Linked DNA regions of Homo sapiens: all the other regions are linked to region 1. The links are contacts of gene promoters, found by promoter capture Hi-C in blood cells and fetal thymus (Javierre and others, 2016). All regions are on one chromosome and are shown on one strand. The core of a region is centred on a gene start or on the middle of the fragment in contact, and the rest is flanking DNA. Distances in the headings are between cores, read along the strand shown.

Region 1 (5,141 bases), core at 1,807-4,306:
CCCGTCAAAGCAATCCTACCTTGCCGATGATATGAGCAGAAGCGAAAGCTGGGAATAAAGTAAAATGAAGGGAGGAATTAGAGGAGAAATGCTTAAATTAGGTGGTAGAAGGAGGAATGCAATCAAATATTGTGGGATGGAAGAAGGTGATGGTAAGATACAGTCTCAGAAGCTTACCAAGTACTAATATTCTGCAATCCAAATGCTTTAATGAAGTGGTTAACATTTAATTTATATTTTACAAAGTATGTTTTCCTCATATTTGTGGCTAAGTTTCAGCAGAAGGGTTTTGTTATTAAGTAATACTTTTTGTCCTGCCACCCATATAAACATCTTTCATATCAGATTTCATTCCAAGGATGTTTCAAGAAACCATTCGGTTCAAACACGTTTGTGACCTCTGTTCTTCAGGCCCCAGACACACAAAGATGAAGGCCAGGTGAATTTAGGTGCATCAATCATTACTTAAAATGTGCCTCTTAATCTCAACCAACCACAGCAGGCAAAAGAGGAAGAAAGACTAAAAGCTCTACCCAAACACTAACAGTAGTTGCTTCTAAGTGACATTTTTCTGCCACATTATACTTCGGTATGCTCCAAATTTTCTACAATAATCTGGTTTGGTTTAAATAGGAACACAAAAGAGTATATCCTTGTAATGGGGACAAAAATAGGAAGATCAATAAGACCTAGTATTTGCTAGCACAACAGGGTGACTATAGTAAAAAAAAAAACAATTTAATTGTAAATTTTCAAATAACTAAAAGAGTACAATTGGATTGTTTGAAACATAAAGGATAAATGCTTTTGGTGACAGCTACCCTATGTACTCTGATGTGATTATGCATTGCATGCCTATGTCAAAATATCTCATGTAACCCATAAATATATACACCTACTAGGTACCCACAAAAATTAAAAATTAAAAAACAAGAATATATCCTTGAAGCTGGGAACTTTTACTTGCTAATAGATGGTACAGAATTTACTGCAATGAGATTCTGCTTGTATACTAATAATTTTTACTTTAAAACAGACTTTAAATACAGAGTTTATATCTCAGATATAATTTAATGCAACATCTGCTTTCTAAAGATGCAAAAATCGAGATGGTAGGATCGCTTGAGCCCAGGAGGCAGAGGTGGAGGTTGCAGTGAGCAGAGATTGCGCCACTGCCCTCCAGCCTGGGCAACAGAGCGAGACCCTGTCTCAAAAAAAAAATGCAAAAATTAAGAGTCACAGTTGAAATGATTTGTTTAAGATCACACAAATAGTAACAGTTTCAGGACTAAAGCCAATGTTCTTGATTTCTAACTCAGAGCTCCTTCCACTATGACACTGTTTGAATTATGCTTCTCTGAAGTCCACCACCAACTGGGGAGCATCTGCGGTGTATGAGGTGCTACTGGAATACAAAGATGGCTAAGAAAGAGCTATTCCCTGGACTCACGGGAGGCAGTTCAAAAAAAAAGAAGGCCGGGCGCGGTAGCTCACACCTGTAATCCCAGCACTTTGGGAGGCCGAGGCAGGCAGATCACCTGAGGTCAGGAATTCGAGACCAGCCTGGCCAACATGGTGAAATCCTGTCTCTACTAAAAACACAAAATTAGCTGGGCGTGGGGGCGCATGCCTGTAATCCCAGCTACTCGGGAGGCTGAGGCAGGAGAATCGATTGAATCCAGGAGGCGGAGGTTGCGGTGAGCCAATATCGCGCCATTGCACTCCAGCCTGGGCAACAGAAGCGAAACTCCGTCTGAAAACAAAACAAAAAAAAAACCAAAACAAAAGAAAGAAAGAAAGAAAAAAGACAAGGCCAGGCACGGTGGCTCACGCCTGTAATCCCAGCACTTTGGGAGGCCGAGGCAGGCAGATCACCTGAGGTCAGGAGTTCAAGACCACCCTGGCCAACATGGTGAAACCCCGTCTCTACTAAAAATACAAAAATCAGCCAGGCGTGGTGGCCTATGCTTGTAATCCCAGCTACTTGGGAGGCTGAGGCAGGAGAATCACTTGAACCCGGTAGGCGGAGGTTGCAGTGAACCGAGATCGAGCCACTGCAGTCGCTCCAGCCTGGGCGACAGAGCGAGACTCCGTTTCAAAAAAAATAAAAAATAAAAGACAAATTGACATGAGTTCTGCTTTCACTATTAAAAAACCTTTAGTACCTACAGGTGAAACTTAGCTTTTGATTTTTCCCCTTCTTGGAAAGAGTCTGCATTTAGTCAGCTAACATTCTAGTACCACTCACAAGCTAAAGATCTTCCGTAATTTGCAAGGGAGGCAGTAGGGGGATGAGAGTTATAAGTTAGCTAACAACCAACTATTCTTTAAAGCTTAACTGTGAACTTAACTGCAATTATGCATTTCATTGACCTTCTCTAGTGTAATACCAGCTCGTCCCTTAGAAAAGAGGAAAATACACTTACGTTTTTATTTCTAGTGGTTCTAAGAACTTGTGATTTGGCTCCAGATTCCTACATGAAAACACTGCATATATTCACCTCCTTCTCTTTTCACCGCATTCGAGTTTTTCTGTCTACTACACAAAATGATAGATAGGGCCAGGTCTGCCAGAACCCTAAATACAGCGGCATCGCCCTGCTTCCTTCCAGGGGATCTTACTATTGGAAGGGCTCTGCTACACAGTACCTCAGACATCCAGAAGAGAGTTTATCTTCCCTCCAACTTCTATATATTCTTGCCATAAGGACAGCACTACCAAAGCGGGCTCCTCCTCTCAGTTGACAGAACGGTGACTGCCTGCGAGGCTCATTCTGAGATAGGGACAAGGGAAAGGGACCGGGGCGATAAGTGAGGGTCCCAGCTTGAGGGCTGGAGTGGGCACCAGACTCCCACCAACGACTAAACCGGGGGAAGTAAAGAAACTGGCCTTCCCCGCACCCAAAAATAAAACATCACATCACTAAAAAATGTAAACGTTCGCAACATTTTCTAAAACAAAGCCACTCACCTGCAAAGGGGCCACCAGCAGCAGCAGCAGCAGCAGCAGCCGCTCCTCCGAGCCGCCAAAGAGCCAGCGCCTCCTAGGACTCATCACTGCCGCCGGCATCGACGCTCTTTTCTAGCCCCTGAACCAGACGTGGGCAGGTCCTAGGGCTCTGCCTATTGGAAAGTCGAACTGTCACTCATCCACGGTCCCGGCCTACTCCCGGAACAGGAGAGGTCTCTTCCGTTTACCAAATCCCAGGAGTAAGAAGTGGGGCTCTGATTGGTTTACTCTAGAGACGAGCACATACCTGAACCAGTAAGGAGTTGGCTTCGACGCCAGCGGGCAGGCTTGGGCCTAGGGAAGTAGAAAAACACACCCTAGAGCGTCGCTGGTGCAAAACCTCGGGTGCGGGGAGCATCTTAGCTGTTTGAGGTTCTAGAAAGCGTTTAACGTCTTAAAAGAAACACCTGCGGGTGAAGACAGGTGTCAGCGGACTCTTGGAAGAGAGGAGGTGATGTTTCTTTTACTTATGGGAAATTTAGGGATTGAAACCTGAAGACGAAGCCGAGGTATCCTCCCAGAAGAAGCTCCTTTCGCACAAATTACTCGTGGTTGAAAGTCTTAAGTCGTGATTAAAACAAATGCCTTTAAAGTGCCCAATTTATAGGCAGTAACGCAACCTTACTTTCTCTTACCGCTTTTATAGGGATTCCCCTAGGCAGTTTGCTGACAGTATTTTAGGTGGGGAAGAAAAGTGATTAATGGAATGCCCTAAAAGCTTATTGCACAGAGGAAGGGAGGCTAGAGTGGAATGAGAGAATGACAAATTTGGAGGCGACAATAACTGAACAAGAGAAATCTATGAAAACACCGGAAACCTGGCACGAGGCCTTAAAAGCTTCTAAGCAGGCTTGAACTACCACACGAGGTTTTGAAGCATATGTGTCAGAACTCTTGGGTGGGCGGGAAAGATAAGGAATGTTATGGGAGATTCCCTTCTTAGAAGCTATCCTAAGTAGTGTTTCGTGTCCTCCTGTGAGTTTTTCCTGTTTCATCCTCCTAACAAATGCATTAGGTTTGTGACACGCAAGCAAGTCCTCAGAATAAATTATACATACAGTTGAAAAGATAATCTTTCCACATTTGAAATTCTGTGACACACTCTTTATTGAACTCATTAAGACCTAATCGTAGCCAGTTCTGTATCTCATTTATCCATGTTAGAGCATGACAGTTCCTCCTGGGATATCAACAGAACTTTACTTCCGGGACGGCACTAATCCGAGGCTTGACAGGTCCCAGCAGGTGATAGGTCTCACCTAGTGATAGTTAGAATTTAACTTGCACAAGATTAACTAGAGTTCAGGCCAGAACAGCTGGAAGGGGCAGCTTCCAAATCTTATACATTTGCCCTCTTGCTTTTTTCTCAATATCAGTTGAGGACAAAGTAAGGAGAAAGCTTTTCTTCTACAGTGTAATAAAGCTCCTATTCAGAGTGCCCACCATCCATACTCCGGAGGCTAATGACAGTCATTACCAAGTGACAGTCTTGTGGCATTTGGCATTTAGGGCTACTTAGTCTGGACTTAAGGGCGCCTACTCATTGGATTTAAGTTTACTGTTGTTATGGACACCCATGGAATGCTAGCTTGTCACATAAAACCTTAATATCAAACATCACTTGCCTTTTAGAATCATTCGCAAGAGTATGTGGCTTATGAATGAGTCATTTTGATATAAGATGGAAGCTTATATCAGTGATTCTGTCTAGAAGGAATTAAAAAGCAGATTTTCATCAGGAGCAAGCATGTTTGTAAGACAAATGTGCACAGAGGCTAACAGAATTTCAGGAGTTACTTTTGCCCTATGGCAAGATTGTTCTCCATACTTAATTATGTTACAGTATCATATCCTGAACCCTGTGTCCTGGTCTATTCGATGAGCTGTCTCTCTTATGAATTTTTAAATAACGAGGTCGTGGTTCACAAAGATGATCATAAATCCATTTAAGGCAAAGATGAACTCCAAAGAATATTAGACTTGTACAAACTTAGTACTTGACAGGGCTTTGGAAATTAAACTCTAGCTCCTTGTTGTACAGATAAAGAAACTGAAGCTTAAGTGATGTGCTCAGAATTACTTGGTTGGGGACAAATCCTGGGCTAGGACCCAAGGTTGCTAATTCATATAA
Region 2 (5,141 bases), core at 1-2,500, 7.1 Mb before region 1:
CTCAAAGGTCTTTTGCCCCTGTAGTTAAAAGCCTAAAGAAGTCTTCTGATCACTGTGGCTGATAGTAATACATCTCAGTATTAATACAGACAAGTGACTACCTGTAATACAGGTCTTCGAAACATGGCTTCTATTTTCTTTTCTTACAGTCTAATCTTTAGGCTTTTCCTGAAGGAAAAAAACAAAATAAGAAAAAAACATTACCTCTTATGGCAAAAGTACAACTCACCAGTCCTAAATTCCTAACTATATTCATAATTTTTATGCACTCCAATTTTGTGACCACAACGTACCAACATTCCTGCACATCTGATGAGGATTCCTTCCTCCCTCCCAAATAAACTCACACCTGTATGTCTTTTTGGTCCCAAATAACTTCCTCTTCCTCCAACCCATCGACAAAATTTTGATTCTGAGTTAATCCCACTTCCAATCCACTGTCTTCTCAAATTTCATTACTATGCAAGCTCCCTTAGAGCAGAGATTTGTATCTGCTTTATTCACTGCCATTTTCTAAACTTCTAAAAAAGTTCTTAATGCATAGTAAGGCCTCCATAAATATTAGCATCACCAAGGGACTTATATCTGAAACCTGTTACTGAAAAATTACTGCCTTCATCTCCGTTAACAAAGACCAAGCAGCGTAGAGACCCCCGGGCTAGCCAGCCACACCATAGGGAGAGGTGGACACCCTTTACCGAAGATGGCGCCACCACCTGAAAACCGAGGAGAACTGGAAGGAAATCACGCGGTCCTCCGCACGACTGATGAAAGGGCCAGACACCTACACAGAAACACCTCCCGACCCACGCAGGATCACGCGCAGCCAAAACACACGACTCCAGCACTTCCTTCGCGCTGGCTATCCCTTCCTCCCTCACCTGACGATCTAACCCGAGCAGCCCAGCCACGCAGGGGATCACTTCCGGCGCACAGGGAACGCAAAGCTCGCCAGAGGAAAAAGGAAACAGAAACTCCGCAACTTGCGCCTTGGAAATACTGCCGGCTAGCGCTGCGGGAAACGGCTCCCCTTAACTCTGAAGTTCCGCGATCTTCTCTTTGTGCGCGGGCGGATGGATCAACGCCGCCAAGTGGTGAGTTTGGAAGGTTTCAAGTTTAGAAGGTTTCAAGTTTAGAAGGTTTCAAGTTTGGAAAGAAATGAAATTATGTGATGAGGTTTCTAACTGGGCCCAGGAGGGGGCGAGGTAGGCAAAACAGAGACTAGCTCTGCCTGGAGGGAAAAAAAAGCAACATTTGTGACCAGCCTAGGCGACATAGTGAGACCTGTCTCTACAAAAAATATATAATTAGCTGGGCGTGGTGGCGCGCGCCTGTGGTCCAAGCTTCTCCGGAGGCTGAGGTCGGGGGATCGCCTGAGCCCTGGAGGTCGTTGCTGCATTGAGCCGTGAACGCACCACTGCATTCCAGCCTGGGCAACAGAGCGAACTCTATCTCAAAACAAAACAAAACAAAACAAGAAAAAGAAAAAAAGAAGAAAATTAAAAAAAAAAAGAAAGAAAAAGAACGTCCCAGGTCTGTTGAAGCACTAAGAAAAGCAGAAAAAGAAAGGGGAGCCAGGGAAGGGCTGGCAGGCTGTGCAATTTAAGGGAGCACCAGAAAAACTGGCAATCAAATAATATATTAATGTAATATTTTAAAAAGTAAAAATTAATGCAGGAAATCCGGGAGGAACAAAATAAGAGTCATGTGTACCTTAACAACAGGGTAAGGTCTGAGGATTGCGTCATTAGGCGATTTTGTTGCTGTACGAACACCACAGAATGTACTTTGACGACCTAGATGGTGGAGCCTGGACACACCTCGGCTCTGTGGTGTGGCCTGCTGCTTCCAGGCTGCAAACCTGACAGCATGGGGCTGTACTGAATACCGCAGACCATTGTAATTCATGGTAAGTATCTGTGTGTCTAAACATATGTAAACATGGAAAAGGTACAGTACAAATGCGGTATAAAAGATAAAAATGGCACACCTGTATGGGGCGCTTACCATGAATGGAGCTTGCGGAACTGGAAGTTGCTGTGGGTGAGTAAATGAGTGAGTGGTGGCCCAACATGAAGGTCTAGGACATTATTGTACCCACTAAACACTTCATAAACACTGTACACTTAGGCTACACTCAGTTTATAAAAAATACTTTTCTTCCTTTAATAAACTTTCACTCACTATAACTTTATAAATCTTCCAAATTTTTTTACGTTTTAACTGTTTTGTAATAACAATTAGCTTAAAACACACACTGTACCACTGTACAAAAATATTTTTCTTATATCCTTATTCTACAAGCTTTTTTCTACCTTTGCTTTTTTTCTTTTTTTTTTTAACTTTTTAGCCATTTTTTAAAAAAACTAAGACATAAACACACACATTAGCCTAGGCCTACACAGGGTCATTATGATCAATCTCAGCCTTCCACTTCCACATCTTGTCCCACTGGAAGGTTTTCAGAAGCAGTGACACACAGGGAGCTGTCATCTCCTATAACAGTGTCTTCTTCTGGAATCCCTCCTGAAGGACCTGCCTGAGGCTGTTTTACAGTTAACTTTTAAAAAATAAGTTAAATAATAATATAATAAAAAGTATAGTAAATACATAAACCAGTGACATAGTCATTATTAATATCAAGTAACACATGAGTAATACATTGCATTCTGATGTTTTAGCAGGTATGATGTCACTAGACGATAGGAATTTTTCAACTCCATTGTAATCTTATGGGACCACCTTTGTATATGCACTGTTGTATATGCAGTCTTTTTCCAAAACATCATTATGAAGTGCATGACTGTATTAAAATTTTAACTGAATACAGGATCCAAGCCAGACTGGAGCCTGAGGCACAAGGAAGAATATGCACCCCTGTGTATATGTGTACTTATGTATTTTTAAAAATTGGGGCTAGGAAGGTTAGTGGGGGGCTGGAGGGAAGGTGGGGATGGTTAATGGGTACAAAAAAATAGAACGAATAAGACCTACTATTTTCGATGGCACAATAGGTTGACTATAGTCAATAATTACTTAACTGTACATTTTAAAATAAGAGTGTTATTGGATTGTGTGTAACTCAAAGGATAAATTAAGATGATACCCCATCCCCCATGATGTGCTTATTTGACGTTGCATACCTGTATCAAAATATCTCATGTACTCCATAAATATATACACTTCCTTTGAACCCACAAAAATTAAAAATAAAGACAAAAACAAAAAAAAATGTTTAATTAAAAAAATTTTGGCCAGGTCCAGTAGCTCATGTTTGTAATCCCAGCACTTTGGGAGGTTGAGGGGGTGGATCACTTGAGCCCAGGAGTTCAAGATCAGCTTGAGCAACATGGCAAAACCCTGTCTCTGTAAAAAATACAAAAATTAGCCAGGCAGCCGGGCGCCGTGGCTCACGCCCATAATCCCAGCACTTTGGGAGGCCAAGGCGGGCCGATCACGAGGTCAGGAGATCGAGACCATCCCGGCTAACACGGTGAAACCCCGTCTCTACCTAAAAATACAAAAAATTAGCTGGGCGTGGTAGTGGGTGCCTGTAGTCCCAACTACTAGGGAGGCTGAGGCAGGAGAATGTCGAGAGCCCGGGAGACGGAGCTTGCAGTGAGCTGAGATCGTGCCCCTGCACTCCAGCCTGGGCAACAGTGCGAGACTCCGTCTCAAAAAAAAAAAAAAAAAATTAGCCAGGCATAGTGGTATGTGCTTATAATCCCAGCTACTGAAGTGGGAGGATCGCTTGAGCCTGGGAAGTTGAGGCTTCAGTGAGCCATGATCACACCACTGCACTCCAGCCTGTGCAACAGAGTGAGAGACCCTGTCTCAAAAAATATATATATGTGTGTATATATATATGTGTATATATATCAATATGTATGAATGAAATATGTGTGTATATATATCTCAATATATATACACATATATATTTTTGAGACGGTATATATATATCATCACACAAAATATATGTATGTATATATGTGTATATATATCAATATATATGTATATGTGTTATATATCAATATATATACACATATATTTCCAGAACATTAAAGTAGTTGAAGAAGTATTGAAAATTTTTAAAGTAGATATTGTAACAAGAAAAACCCAGAATTGCATTAATAAAAACCTTCCCCCAAACTGAGAGGAAGCCGAGAAACCAAAGATTGACCCAGACAAGTCCAGCTTGGCGAGTAGAGGAGTTTATCAGGACTTACATACAAGGCACTCCTGGATGGCAGCATGACAGCTGTAGAGATCCGCCTGGCCTCCCATCCCTAAGCTACTTGTAAGCTAATTTTCTGGCTTTTAGCCTACTGTGTGTGATGGAGCTGTTTTCTTTGGTAGGTTCTCAGATATTCTCTGGGATGTTTGGCTTCTCAAACAGCTGCTCTTTGGCTGGTCACCTTGGCCTTGCCACATGGCCTTCAGGATTCAGGCAGTGGACATACACTCTTTAGTAACCCGGGTGGGGGGGACCTGTTACACTACAGGTGTATTAAAATTCACAACATTGTTTTAAGTTTAAATATTTTATTTATGCCAAGATGGATGTAATATAACTTTACTTTTAATGGAAGTAAACTGATCAGTAATGTGTTCAAATCTGCTTTGCTTGTTTTGAGAGAATTGCCATGCCTTCACAATTTTTCTTGACCAAGTAACAACCTTAAATAATTTTAATTAACTTCAGCTTACTGATCTTGTCTTTATTTAAAATTTTGGTATTTTATTCATCATGAATTTTTTTCATTAGTTTTAATATTTTAAGAATATTTCATTAAAGTATCACAAATCTTGATTGCTGAGTTCCTTGGTGCCCCTTAAATTCCTTCTCATTTACGCTAACCCTGGGCCTAGTGGGAAAAAGGATGTATGGAGCCCCATAAATTGCAGAACCCACACCAGCGGGGGCTGCCCCTTCCACTCCTTCTCCTGGTCCTGGCACTGTCCAGACTGTGGAGAAAGAAGGTACCCACCATATTGTTCTAACAGGCAAATCACCTCCTCAGGCCTCTACCTAAAACCTTTCATCTGCCCATTTTTGCCATTTAGGGATAAAATCTTAAGATAGCTTCCAACACACACACTTTAACGCACTCCTGAAGGTCTTGCTCACCAGTTGGTAAACT
Region 3 (5,141 bases), core at 1,030-3,529, 6.4 Mb before region 1:
TTATAGTAATTCACAAAACATTGATAACACCAATAATTCATACGTGAAAAGGAAAAAACAGGAAGGATATACAAAACGAAGCCAACAAGGTTTATGCAAAAAATATATATATGTGTGTGTATATATATATATACACACACATATATATAGCTCTTGCCTCGAGCCAATTAAAATTTGGCTTTAAACCAGCAGCTTACACGTAAAGGAAGTCTTCTTGTTTATATGATTCAGTGGCCATTACATAAAAACAAGCCAACTCCACAGAAACAAGTACAAAAGACAAGACGAAATTTCTCCCAGGAGTTTCGCTCCTTAGGACTTCTTTTCTGGACTGTAGCCATGTATAGGATACTCATTACCCCTTTGTAAACTTAAATGTAGTCACTAGACCCAACTTTATAAGGCTGTTTACTATATCATATAAGGCTGATAACATGTCAAAACTTAACTTGATAAAAGCAAATCCTATAGCATAGATTGATTAGACGTCAAATTCTAACTTAAAAGTAAATTCTGTAGGAGGAAAGAGGGTGTAAATACAATACCCACTAGGTAGGCAACTCACTACCGATATTAATTCCAGGGTACATTTTGAAATATTTATAAAATGCCTTGAACGATACTCAGAAAACGAGTACAGTTTCCTCACCCAAACTATCAAACATTGAGTAAGTGCTGCATACAATGCCTATGGGATGTGGCTTGCTTGAAAACAGATTTAGTATGGGGTGAAATACTCACAATGCTTTCTACTATCTGCCCAGCGAGGTCTAAGATAACTACTGAGGAGACAAACGTTCCATCCCCTACTCCCTGAAGAAGCTCCTGGGTCAATGGGGGAAAGCGCTCCTAACCCAGTAGCAAGGAAGGCTTGCAGCTAGGGATCCTAATTAACTATTAGAAGATGAGCAGATAGATGGAAGGGGAGGGGGATGGCGCCGCAAGTCGGTCAGAAAGACCACACGGCACACGCATCGCCATTGCTTCAGAGCTTTTGGAGGCAGGTCTGTAGCCATTCCCACCAAAACATACTACCGAACCGTGCATGCCCTTCCAGGAGAGCCAGACCTTTCTAACTCTCCCCAGCCCACCACCTCCCCGGGTCCTCCGCACAGGCGGCGGCGCTAGCCTTACTGCGCAGGCGCCAGGTACACCTCGGAGGCCTCAGGAGGGGGAGCCAGTAACTCCGGGTCGTTCACTAGGGCTCCGCTCTAGCTGCCAAGCTTCCGTTTCTCTACTGCTCCCCGTAATAGTTGCCTGCGCGAGCTTGGAGCCGGGTAGAGGGCGGGCCTTCCGGGACGAGGGCGCGTGGGTGAGGAAGGTCAGGTCTAGGTAAGGCTGTCGGTGACTTTGGGGGTCTGCAGCAAGGGGCGATGGCTGCGAAGTCTACGGGGGTCTCCAACCTTGTAGAGTCGCCAGGAATAGGGCGAATCCACTTCATTAGTGACCAGCTCGGGCGGTTCACGTGCATCACACAAATAACTTGGCCTTTTTCTGCCTCAGTTGGGGGATTTCTTAAACGTAGAATACCCGCGTTTCCGCTGCCGTAATTTCCTCTCAGGCGCAATTACTCTCTTCCATATTGGTTAACAGTAGAAGGCTCAGTTTCTCTGCTCATCACACGGCCTTCGGCACTGTAGCTTTGGGTGGTGGGCTGCAGATTAATTTTGTAACCACCTTAAGAAAAATACGGTAAGGTGATATTTAAGAAAAATATTTGCGAAATGCGCTCCCGAGTCAAACATCGGTTGACTTGACAATACTACAGTTTCCATCACAGTCAGGCATGATCGAGTCAGGTGGAGGGAGTTGAAGATTGTTCTTGATGAACTGAATGCAGCTAATACATTTTCAGTGCCGTTGATGCCTCTATGACTCCGTAAAATAATCGGTACCGGGTTTTTTTGTTTTTAAGCATTCTGTTGAGATTGTTTTTATGTTTAGATTGTTTCTATGACAACGTGTGTACACTGTATGTGAATTCCTTGGATCCTGATGGTTATTAGGGTGGGCACTGTGCCGTGAATTTTGCATATTAGCTTCACATCGCAGATAGTATGACTGTCCTCGTGTAGTCGATGAGAGAACCTGGCAGAGAATAAGCACCATTACAAAAACGACGTGGCCATTAAAAGGCAGAGGCGAGATTCCAACCAGCTTTTTTATTCTGCAGCTGGTGCGTTCTGCTAACCAATGGTTTTTGGGAAACTGGAGAAAGCTCTCTCCCAGAACAATTTACACACACACATACATACACATATCGGCATACAGATGTACACTTCCACTGTTTTCAAAACGCTGAAGCACATCCCGGTTAAGAACTCTTGCACTTCATCTTTACCTTTCAAAGAGAAAAGGCAAACCTAATACAAAGCCACTTATTGAAATAATCTTTTAAATGCATCAGACCTATCAAAAAGATCAAAGAAGTTTGCCCTGTTATGCCAAAGTAAAAATATGGGAATTTTCTTCTCATGTGGGCTTAATTTGTTTTGCTCAGCACATTTGAGTAATTTGTTTTTGCTTAGCATTTTCAGCTCCAGTTAACTTTTTTCATGAGAGTACAGTTTTCTTTAGTTCACATTTAAAGAAAGGTAACACTTAAAGTGACTTGTACTCCCCGAGAATGGTTTCATGTGAATCAAAATGTAATTGACATGCACGTTGTAAGAAAAGCTCCCGTGTTATTCTTCGTGAGAGACATGTGTCTGTGCACTGTGGAAGGAAACAACAAAGCAGTGTCATTGGTAATTGTTAAAACCACTTTCAGTTTCCTCCTGTTTAGCAAGTGGGCCTTTGTTTCTAGTAAGGGATTCAGGTTTGAAAAGGCTTATTCCCTTTCTCTGTCATAAAACTTTAGGACTTGGATTTTATGATATAACCATGTTCCAGCCTATTCTAGTGTGACCTTTTTACTTACAAGTTATGTATCCCAGTAATTTGCCACATTCCAAAATGGGCATGGACATAACAGCAGCATCCTGTGATGGCTTCAGTGACTACTGTCCTACTGAGTCCCTTCCTCCTCCTGGCTATCTTGTCAAGTTATCAAGGTGCTGGTCCTCTCCCTATGTTTCTCTGGCTGTCAGTCTTTGTAAATGAGGTCATCATTCCAGGGAGGCACAAAGTTTTTACTATATGGAGTATCTATCTGTCTGTCTCTCTCTCTTTTTTTTTTTTTCTTAAACATGATTAAGAACAAGGAATAAACAAATGTGTCTATGTAGAATATATGAAAACCAAACTTACAGATCTGGGCTCGTTCTTTTTTGTAAGTTACCATTTACTACTCAGTGCCACTGTTACTCATTTTCGCACTAGTCATGCAAGCTTTGTTTTCAGAAAAGGAGACTCAGAGAAGATGAGTAACTGTTCACAATAACCCAAGGATTAAGTGACAGAGCCAGTAGTCAAACCTAGGCCTCAGGAATCCCTGTTGCCTCTTCATTGACAAATAAAGGGACTTGGAATTCAGAACAGATTTTCCTGAAAACACTGTAACAAACTGATAGTTCCCATACCAGCTTACAGATAACTAACTGTGGAAATACTGTGCAATTACAGCAGAAATATATTCTGATGCCACAATGGTAATTAAGCAAACAAAGCAAAGTTGATGAAGCAACTATTGTTTTTTAATCTAATGTTTGGAAAAAGGTAACTTTAAAGGGCAAAGGAAGAGAAAAAGCATGCAAAGAAACTAGGTGACTCTGGACATTTGCAAGGCTTTTTAGAGGTTTATGGCACTGATTTGTTTATACATTAAACTGCTAAATGAATTTTTTTCACCTTGAGACTATAACCCTAGTCCTAACAACCCCACCCCCAACCAGAGTTGGCAAAGAAGTGAATCAGGAAACTGAGAATGCTGAATGGAAAAGGAAGAACAGGCTTGTAGGTGATCTGCAGATGGTGGGGAGGGAGGGGTGGACGTTGGATCTGACAGTTCTACCGTTGCCAGCCTTCAGGTGGCACTATTGACCCAAAATTGCTTGGTTGGTGTTCTGAATGGTTTTGAGGTTGACAGTGGTTTGAGATCAGCCTCTGCTTTTTTTTTTTTTTTTTTTTTGACACACAATCTTGCTCTGTCACTCAGGCTATAGAGTACAGTAGTGCAGTCATAACTTAGTGTAACCTCAAACTCCTGTGCTCAAGTGATGTCCCCCTCCTCAGCCTCCACGAGTAGCTGGAACTACAGGTGTGCACTACCATAGCAGACTAATTTTCTTATTTTCTTTTGTTTTTTGTTTTTTTTTCTGTAAAAACAAGATTTCTCCATGTTGCCTGGGCTGGTCTTGAAGTCCTGACCTCAAGCGATCCTCCCACCTCAGCCTCTCAAAGTACTGGGATTATAGGCATGAGCTACCATGCCCAGCCTCCTCTGTTAATGGATCTTGAAACAGGCATTAAAACTTCCTTAATTTAAACACGGTTTGTTTTCTTACAAGAACTATTTTGAAATTCACTTGGCACCATTTTTATGTAGGAGGGTTTTTGGTACATTTCTCCCATTGGTTTTTCAAAGTTTATGCCTTTTTCCTGCTTGAATATCAGCACCTTTTCATCTCAGCTGAACTGTTTCCCAGGATAGTCTCTGAGTCAGCAAAGATTCTCATCTCACTACTAAAATTTCTCATAAATTGGCATATTCTGCCAACAATAACCCCTACGTCTGGTCTAAACTGAGTTGAGATAGTTATTCCACCAGCAGCTTTCTTGATTTTTATGTATCCCCTGTATAGTTTTTTATGTCTGTTAGCTGTAATTCGTGCATATCACGGATATCATTCTTATACCCATTTCAGTGTTGTATGTCTCTGAAGAAAAAGCTACTGTTTCCAGCTGATAAGAACTTAGGTAGTTTGCATTAAAGCAGAATATATAAGATGGAGGATACAGCAAGTAACCTTACAATTCATACGTGCCTTCTATTTAGTAAGAAAATGGATCTTTTGAGCTATTGGATTTATTTTTATAGGGCTACTGTCTGTTTTTCCCAAATGGCTCTCAGTCTCTAGGCAAAATTCAGTTCAGTAACCTAGAAGCCAAATGACCTCATAACTCATTAGCAGCTCTCAGAGCCTTCTGGAGCCCTTGAGGAGAACAGTGTTCAAAGGACTGATAGTAAAGACAACATAATT

What was found. Contacts are between HindIII fragments. The CHiCAGO score rates a contact against its expected background, and 5 or more counts as called.
Region 2: a contact is called between the fragment with the promoter of WEE2-AS1 here and the fragment with the promoter of BPGM in region 1, in 3 of 17 cell types (total B cells, activated CD4 T cells and fetal thymus). The highest score is 9.4, in total B cells.
Region 3: a contact is called between a fragment that was not itself captured here and the fragment with the promoter of BPGM in region 1, in 5 of 17 cell types (fetal thymus, total B cells, neutrophils and 2 more). The highest score is 19.7, in fetal thymus.

The regions. Positions count from the first base shown.
Region 1 is chr7:134,644,768-134,649,908 of GRCh38, reverse strand. BPGM (bisphosphoglycerate mutase) reads right to left here and starts at 3,056. Exons shown (of 3, transcript NM_001724.5): 1 at 2,972-3,056. The region is part of intron 1 of LOC124901750 (a long non-coding RNA gene); the gene reads left to right. RefSeq lists enhancers at 2,720-2,829, 2,930-3,079. The HindIII fragment of the contact is 1,395 bases long and covers 2,336-3,730 here.
Region 2 is chr7:141,734,151-141,739,291 of GRCh38, reverse strand. WEE2-AS1 (WEE2 antisense RNA 1) reads left to right here and starts at 1,250. Exons shown (of 4, transcript NR_199841.1): 1 at 1,250-1,909. SSBP1 (single stranded DNA binding protein 1) reads right to left here and starts at 934. Exons shown (of 7, transcript NM_003143.3): 1 at 882-934; 2 at 102-168. The coding sequence starts at 125. RefSeq lists an enhancer at 1,032-1,917. The HindIII fragment of the contact is 7,644 bases long and covers 1-1,345 here.
Region 3 is chr7:141,011,102-141,016,242 of GRCh38, reverse strand. It overlaps MRPS33 (mitochondrial ribosomal protein S33), which reads left to right and starts at 1,291. Exons shown (of 3, transcript NM_053035.3): 1 at 1,291-1,332. RefSeq lists enhancers at 763-962, 1,483-1,532, 995-1,640, 2,783-2,852 and a silencer at 1,110-1,418. The HindIII fragment of the contact is 2,107 bases long and covers 1,226-3,332 here.